Linked DNA regions of Homo sapiens: all the other regions are linked to region 1. Evidence: promoter capture Hi-C in 16 types of primary human blood cells and fetal thymus (Javierre and others, 2016). All regions are on one chromosome and are shown on one strand. The core of a region is centred on a gene start or on the middle of the fragment in contact, and the rest is flanking DNA. Distances in the headings are between cores, read along the strand shown. Region 1 holds the start of IVL (involucrin). Region 2 overlaps LOC101928009 (a long non-coding RNA gene). Region 3 has its middle 5.6 kb from the start of LELP1.

Region 1 (2,952 bases), core at 437-2,936:
CTGTCAGGAAAACTATGGGGAATCAGGACACTTCTCAAAATTAGCCCCACTGAGTATTGTCTTTATAATTCCTTCTTTTTGGATTAGATTGTAAAAAAGAGAGTGTAAATGAATGATGTCCATATAATAAGTTATTAGCCAACCATTAAAAAGAAAGGGAAGAAATAAATCAGTTTGGTTTTTACACACACATACAGACACACACATATAAACATTGATCAACACTGAAATGTTTAATAGTCATTATTTTCGGGTCGTAAAATTCACTGTTCTTCAATGAATACTTGTAGAGCACATATTATATGCAGTAGTTTTGATAGGTTCTAGGGGTATAGTGGAAAACATACCAGGTATACGCTGCTCTTAGCTTATTTTCCAGTGGGAAAGATAGACAATAAGCAAGTGAACAAATGCAAATAAATTACTCTAGATTGTTATAAGTGAAATTAAGTACCAATCCTTTAGATATGGTACACAGAGAAGGATCTCTGACAGACCCCAACATTGACACTGAAGCTGAAAGGCATAAAAGAACCAGAGACCTGGGGAGGGGCCGGTGGGCAGAAGGAGAGCAGGTGCCAAGCCCCCAGGTGGAGAGCTCTGGGCTCATCTCAGGAACCGAAGGCCCTCAGTGAGGTAAGAATATACCTCTCAGGGAGAGATTGACATGAATTGGGGCCCCAGAAGAAGGCAGAAGCCAGGTACCCAGGGTCTTTTAAACCACGGCAGTGAGTTTGAATGTTATTTCAAGTGTGCTGGTGCACTGTTGGCACGGGGGAGAGATGTGCTCAAATCCCCACTCTGAAAGATTTCTTAAGCTATTTCTAGAGTATGATTTACAACAGGAAATGGATGATTTGATTCTGATCTTTATACCTTCATGCATTTAAAAAAGTACTTAAGAAAGTAGTTTGGTTTGTCATTATAAAAAGCAATACTTATTTTTATATTGTGTAGATTCAATCTTGTTTCCTTGCCTAGAGTGGGCCGTGCTTTGGAGTTCTTATGAGCATGGCATTCCTGAGAACTTCTCTAACTGCAGCCTCGGGCATAGAGGCTGGGCAGCAAGTGGCAGCAGCAGAGGACTCCTAGAAGCCTTCTACTTGACTCTACTTGGCCTAAAGTCAAACTCCCTCCACCAAAGACAGAGTTTATTTCCACATAGGATGGAGTTAAAAAATATATTCTGAGAGAGGAAGGGCTTGTGGCCCAAGAGAACACCCCAGAAATACCACCCCTTCATGGGAAGTGACTCTATCTTCAAACATATAACCCAGCCTGGACATCCCCGAAAGACACATAACTTTCCATTTCATGCCCTTGAAAGTGAATCTTTTGGCCTAATAATGAGAACAAACTCATTTTGAAAGTGGAAAAATTGAGATTCAGAGCAGAAGTTTGACTAAGGTCACAAAACAGTAGGATGCCTCACTCAGCTCCCTGTGCCTAGGTCAGAAAAGCATCACAGGAATAGTTGAGCTACCAGAATCCTCTGGCCAGGCAGGAGCTGTGTGTCCCTGGGAAATGGGGCCCTAAAGGGTTTGCTGCTTAAGATGCCTGTGGTGAGTCAGGAAGGGGTTAGAGGAAGTTGACCAACTAGAGTGGTGAAACCTGTCCATCACCTTCAACCTGGAGGGAGGCCAGGCTGCAGAATGATATAAAGAGTGCCCTGACTCCTGCTCAGCTCAGCACTCCACCAAAGCCTCTGCCTCAGCCTTACTGTGAGTCTGGTAAGTGTCGGATGGTAGAACCAGGGTTGGGACTCGGGACCTCCAACAGCATACGATGTGGTGGGGGTGGGCAGCCTGGGTGGGGGTGGGCATTACTCTGGGGCTGGATTCAGCTGGACTTTCATTCTAGGGGGACTCGAGTCAGAGTACTGAGAGAAAAGTGCCTTGGCACAGAAGTGCAGAACAGAGAGTAATCATCCTATGTCCCATCTTTTCTTGTGACCATATTTTTGGATTTGTGTGTGAGAGAGAATTATGGAAGGGAGGAGGGGAATAGCATTCAACTTCTTTCCTAAACCTCTTGGGTTTTGACAGACCATCATTTTGCCTTCTTTATGGAGGGAGAGGTTCAGGGAAGAGCTTCTACCTTTTGGCTATGCTGCACAGAGGGATGGCAGAATGGGGAAACCTTTCTATTTGGAGAAACCTAGGCAGAGCTGGGACAGGAAAACTCAACTTAGAAGTATAAGACTTGGAAGAACAACCTCCAACTCTCAGCAACCTTCCAGCTCCCGCAGCCCCACCCCAGACACAAGGACTGCAGCTAAACCTCAGAAGGTCAGGAGAGAAAGCAGCCCTGGGGTTGAATAGGCCAACCTGCTGGCTTTACAGGGGGGAAAACCAAATCCCAGGAGACTAAGTGACATGCCCAGAAACACACAGCATTCCAATGGGAGATTCAGGCCTAGAGCATGTCCTGTGGCTCCAGTCTGGAGGTCACACCATGACCTCTTAGGTCCTCTCTGGCACGGCCTATTGGTTTTCTAGGACTTGGTGTTCTCCAAGAGACATTTCATTCCCTAAGGCCTTACTCCTCACTGTGACATAATCCCAGAACGCATCTCTGCTCCTTGGTCAGTGAAGCGATGAGGGTGGACACAAGGACTAGACAAGAGCAGACAGTGAGCTGGCACCTGACCCACCCTTGCAGAACAGCCCTGCAGACAGATCTCCTTGTTGGCTCTCACCTGGGAACAAGGAGGCTCCTAGGAGGACCTTTCTCTGCCCCTCCACATTTCCACCCTTCTCTCTCTGCTGCTTTTGGGAAATGATAGTCCAGAGGTGGTAGAACAGTACCCTGCCCAAGGGAAGAGGGGATGCTAAAAAACCAGATACTTCTGCAGATTCCCAAGGTTTCATCTATTTCCTTTGCCTTCAGCCTGTGCATCAGACCTCTTCTGTCTTTCAGGTTGACAGTAGCTTCTAAGATGTCCCAGCAACA
Region 2 (2,712 bases), core at 103-2,602, 270 kb after region 1:
TTCTTCCTTTATTCAGTTAATTTGGTGAATTACATTTATAATATTAAATAAACCTTGCATTCTGTGACAAATCCTCTTAATATATTGCTAGACTCAATTTACTGATATTTTCTTAAGGATTTTTGCTTCTATGCTCCTGAGGAATAACGATCTGTAACTTTCTTTTCATTTAATGTCCTTGTCAAGTTTCAATATCAGGGCTACGTTAACCTGAAAAAGACTTGGTGAATATTCCCTCTTTCTCTGTTTTATGAAAGAAATTATGTATGATTGAAATTTTTATTTCTTAAGTGTGTGGTATAATTCACCAGTTAATCCTTTTGGACCTGGGGCATTCTATATGGGAAGGTTTTAAACTATGGGTTTTATTTCTGTAATAATTTTAGAGATTGTCTCAGTCAGGGTACAATGAGAGGAACAGAACCAGTTGGAAATGTACTTCAGAGATTTACTACAAGGACTCAATTTATGTGATTGCAAAGGCAGCTAGGCAAGTCTAAAATCCAGAAGTCAGGACATCAAGAGGGTAAGCTGGAACTCTGTCATAGGCTGAAGCTGTAATCCACACATATAATTTCTTCAGGGAAGATTTAGCTTGGCTTTTAAAGCCTTTCAACTGATTGAATCAGACCAGCCTGTATAAACTAGGATTTTCTCCCTTACTTAGAGTCAATTCATAATGGACTTTAATCACATCTACCTTCACAGCAACACCTAGATTAGTATTTGATTGAGTAACTAGGGACTGTCATGCAGCCAAGCTGACACGTCAAAAGACCATCACAGGGCTGTCAAGTTTTCATTTATGTGTTAGTTTTTTATTTTCAAGGAATTTGTGCTTTTCATCTAAGTTGTAGAATTCAATATGAAGTTGTTTATAATATCCACTCATTTTAAATATAACAATGTCACGCCTATCATTTGTGAAATGGTTTCATTTTTAAATATACAATATCATCGTGTGTGTGAAGGTACTCATGCCACAAACTAAATAAGGATAATAATGTTTGAAATAATGATAGTAGTCATAATAATAATTTTTAAGACCTAGGATTCATCTCTTATTCCTCTTTTCCTCACCTCCCACATACTACTTCTTCCTAGATCCCAAGTTCTGCCTTAAGCTTATTATCACTTCTCATCTTCTCATTATCTTCAATGTTCTTACCCTAATTAGAGCCACCATCACCCTCACCTGAACCACTGCAGAAGTTTCCTATCTTGTGTCCTGATTTCTATCTTGTCTCCGTATTCCTATCTTGTGCCACAGCAATCCCATATCAGAACAACCACAGCAATCATATAAAATATAGAGAAGATTATGTCCTCCCTAATTGAAATGATCAAATATCTTGCCATTGTATCTAGAGAAAAGTCTGAAGACCTTACTGTCCTACAAAGCACTTCATGCTGTGGCACTGACTCTTATGCTGACTTCATCATATCTTTCTTTCCTTGTTCACTAAGTTGCAGGAATATTGGCATTCTGGTGGCTTCCTTCCCTTTAAAGTAACCTTTTAACTGACTAAAATTGAAGTATAAATTAATAAAAGCTCACCAAGTACAGGTATACAACTTAATAAAGCTTCATAAGCTAAACAACCATGCAACCAATGCACAAATGAAGAAATAACATGTTACCAGCATCTCAGAAGCAGTCCACCTGGGAAGCAGGTTCTCAAAAGCAGTCCGAGTCACTACCAGCCCCCAAACATTAACTTTTTCCTGGCATCTAACACTGTACATTTGTTCTTCATGTTCTGAACTGTATATAAAGGGAATCATACAGTATGAACTCTTTGGTGCCTGGATTTTTTTTCCCCAAAATTGTGTTTGTGATACTGATTCATTTTCTGGTTTGTAGATATAGATCGTTGATTCTCATTGCTGTATGGTATTTCTCTATGAGAATATACTACCATTTATGCATCCATTTTATTGCTAAAAGGTATTTTAGTAGTTTCCAATTTGGAATTTTTAAAAATAGTGCTAATGTGAATATTTACGTATTTGTCCTTTTGTGACTATATGTACACACTTCTGTTAGGTACATACCTAGGAAAATATAATGACTGGGTCAGAGGATAGGGATATGCTCAGCTCTAGTGAATACTGTTAACTTTTCCAAATTCTTTCTACCATCTATTATTCCCATCAGCAGTGTGTGAAAGTTTCAATTGCTCCACACTCTGTCTAAACTTGGTATTGTCTATCTTTTTTCGTGTTAGCCATTTCGGTGGCTATGTGGAGATAACACGTTGTGACTTGAATTTGCATTTCTCTTATGAATGGTGAGATTAAACTCTTTATTATATGTTTATTGGAAATACAGAAATGCCCTTTCATGAATTGCCTGTTCAGGTTGTTCAGATATTTTTCTATTTGCTCATTTCTTGTTTTTTTGTTGATCTGTGAGTAGGAACACATGTGTATATATGTTCTGGGAACAAGCCCTTTGTTAAATATAGATATTACATACAGCTTCTCCATCTCTGTGGCTTGGCATTTTGCAATCTTGGTGGTGTTTTTGATAATCAGAAATTTTTAATTTTAATGAAATCCAATTTGTCATTTTTCCACCTTATTGGTATGCTTTTTATTACCTGATTAAGGAATCTTTCCTATTGACAAGATCTGAAGACATTCTCCCAGAGTTTAGAATTTTGTTTGTTTGTTTTTGGTTGTGTAATATATTTTTATTTTCTATGGGTA
Region 3 (2,700 bases), core at 93-2,592, 290 kb after region 1:
TGATGGACATTTAGGTTATTTTCACATCTTAGCTAAAGTTTGATTAGATAAAGCTGCTTATTCCAACTGCTACTGTTCCAGCCCATGCTGCCTCCTGTGGCAAAAGAAGATCATTAGGGAAACACAGTGCTGCCTCCCACTTTATTAAAAAATATGAAGACCTTGTAAAGCTGGTTAAGAAATTGACAAGAACTACTTCAAATCATCTGAAAATGTCCCCCAAATTTCCTGACTTTGTGATCCCACACTCAGTGAAGGAAATGGGTCTCTGCTTTTCACTGCCTTCCTTACCTGTGCAAAGAGATCTCGCTTTGTGCCCTGAGCCTGCAGAAGTCACTCTCAACCTGCTGAGGGATTTTCTCTTCATCTCTGCTCTCTCCATTAAGACATCTGCCCCAGTGGGCCCCCAGTTTATTGCCCTTGCTTGTAGCTGGGAAGGTGATGGTGTCACAGGAGGAAAAAGGAAACAGAAGCCTGGTGGGCACCTTAGGAGGAGCCCTCAGGTAAAATGTGGACTCCACAGAGGAGTCCGGTAGAGCTTCACTCAAGAGAATGACTCCCATTTACCCACAGGATCCTTCCCTACCGTGCCTGGCCCAGCTACCTCCCTGCCAAGTCCACTCCATCCTGTGTCCTCCCCAGTTCTCCTGAAGTGGGTCTCACCAGGCAGAGAATGTGTGTGTGTGTGTGTGTGTGTGTGTGTGTGTGTGTGTGTGTGTGTATGTTGGAGGATGAAGAGGAGGTGCAGGGCAAGATAAACCCTAGCTGCAGGGAAGGGGAGATGGACACTCGCTGAAGCTTGAGTCCATCTCTGCTTGGGAGCCTGGATCAGATGGCGGCTGTATCCTGGACAAATCCAACAAGATCTGGGATTTTCAGCCTACACAGCCCAGCGGTACCTGCCTCCTGGAATCTCTGGGCCTCATACAGATATATTCATGTTGGAAGCTGACCCTGAGAAACAGATCTCCATCTCCATAAAGTTGGATCTCCCTCCTCTGACAGACAGTTTATTTGATTCTTATCTCCCCTGCTGAACTTTGTCTTGTATATCCATTCATTTATTTCCCAAATATTCACTGAGCATCTATTATATGTCAGGCCCTGGCCCAGCACTAAAGATGCAAAGAATAATAAGAAAGCCCTTTCCTGGATTAGGGCACTGTATGAGACAGAAGACAGCATTGCCCCCCGGCAGAACAGGTGGGGAGTCAATCCATGGGGAGCACATCAGGCATGTTCAGAGATGGTATCTCTTAACTGCAGCAGGGTGGGGGTCCAGAGCAGTCCACATGGAAGGTGGAATTTTCAAATTGTATATAGAAGATAAAAAATAAATATCAATAAGGCAAAAAGGAGGGGGATACTCCAGTTAGAGAGAAAAGCAATTGCGAAACCATTGAAATATTATTCCATCTCCTTATTGACAAGAAGCATTAACTATTGCCTGGCCAACATGTGCCAAGACACACACTGGACACTGCAGAAACAGAGATTTTAAAAAGTAATTGGTTCCTGATCTCTACACTACATCATGTGAGAGAGTAGATCAGGAAGTAAATAACTACAAAATATGGGGATAAAAATTTCAGAATGAGCTTGGCTAAGGCAACTAACTGCCTGGGAAGGTGAGAGAAATCATGCCCAAGGAGAATTTCCTATGAGTTCAAGGTTGAGGAGGAGAGAGGGAGGACTCGGCTGGCAGAGCAAAAACTCGGAGTTTAAAAAAATAAAAAAAGTCTAGCATATTTTGGAAACTGCAAGTAGCTTTACCCCAGAATCTACGGTAAAAGTAGAAGACCGAGCTGAAAGTAGACACCAGATTAGTAAGAGTTTTGTTGACCCAACCAAGAGCCTTGGGCCTCATCTTAAATTCAATAGTAAAATTAAGCTTTTGTTTTATAAAATTCACTTCGGCAATGCTGTGGGGGTTGAATTAGTGGTGAGACTCTTTGGAGACAGGGAGACCTGTGATGATGATGCCACAATAAAGGCAGCAACCATGGCTGTGAGAGAATGGGGGACCAACTTGAGAGAAATGTGCCTGCAGCTCCCAAACACACCCTGGCTTAGAAGCCTGTGGCTCAGGAGGTAGAATCTGCAGATCCTGATAGCACATTTGGTGTGAGGTTGAGTAGGAAGCAAGAGTCTGGGATGATCCCAGGTTTCTTGTTAAGTCTTGGTGGACAGGATGCTATTCACAGAGTCGGAGCGCATAAGAGGAGCAAGAGGGGCATGTTAGGAAAAATGTGGAAGGTGTTGAACTCTGATTTTGTAAAATCAGCTTGAGGTACCAAAGTACATCCAATGGATGTTAGTATTGGGACCTAAAGCTCAGGGAAGAGGGTGGGCTTTGGGATTCTCTATGCAGAGCTGGTACTTTCAGCAATGGTGGATAATAATATCAGCAGCAAGGGTGAAAAATGAAGGTGCAGGTGATGTTGAAAGGATTCAACAGAGGAGAAAGGGCTCGGGAAGGAGAGTAGATGAGGCTGTAAGTGGGAGTCTACCCATGTCACAGAGGACCAAAAGGGAAGAGGGTTAAAATATAGGACACAACTGTAACAATTACTGCAGTAAAGTCAAATAGGATAAACCCTGAACCATGTCCATGAGGATTTCGTAGAACATTCTTCCCCCTTTATATAATGAATGAGCAAAAATACACAAATATCAAGAAAAACTTACGCAATGGTGATT

The links. The method cuts DNA at HindIII sites, captures the fragments that hold promoters and counts their contacts. A CHiCAGO score of 5 or more calls a contact.
Region 2: a fragment that was not itself captured here is called in contact with the fragment with the promoter of IVL in region 1 in 10 of 17 cell types (endothelial precursors, M2 macrophages, M1 macrophages and 7 more); the score reaches 13.4 in endothelial precursors.
Region 3: a contact is called between a fragment that was not itself captured here and the fragment with the promoter of IVL in region 1, in 10 of 17 cell types (M2 macrophages, endothelial precursors, M1 macrophages and 7 more). The highest score is 11.2, in M2 macrophages.

Annotation. Positions count from the first base shown.
Region 1 is chr1:152,906,860-152,909,811 of GRCh38, forward strand. IVL (involucrin) reads left to right here and starts at 1,687. Exons shown (of 2, transcript NM_005547.4): 1 at 1,687-1,730; 2 at 2,920-2,952. The coding sequence starts at 2,939. RefSeq lists promoters at 1-2,927, 788-1,727, 1,447-1,681, enhancers at 1-454, 1-369, 1,288-1,567, a cis regulatory region at 1,037-1,533 and silencers at 1,302-1,354, 1,727-2,927. The HindIII fragment of the contact is 6,184 bases long and covers 1-2,952 here.
Region 2 is chr1:153,178,575-153,181,286 of GRCh38, forward strand. The region is part of intron 2 of LOC101928009 (a long non-coding RNA gene); the gene reads left to right. It also overlaps a transcript of SPRR2G not described here. Among named protein-coding and RNA genes, the nearest start is that of LELP1, 23 kb to the right of the region's middle. The HindIII fragment of the contact is 461 bases long and covers 1,123-1,583 here.
Region 3 is chr1:153,196,459-153,199,158 of GRCh38, forward strand. It overlaps a transcript of SPRR2G not described here. Among named protein-coding and RNA genes, the nearest start is that of LELP1, 5.6 kb to the right of the region's middle. The HindIII fragment of the contact is 1,093 bases long and covers 797-1,889 here.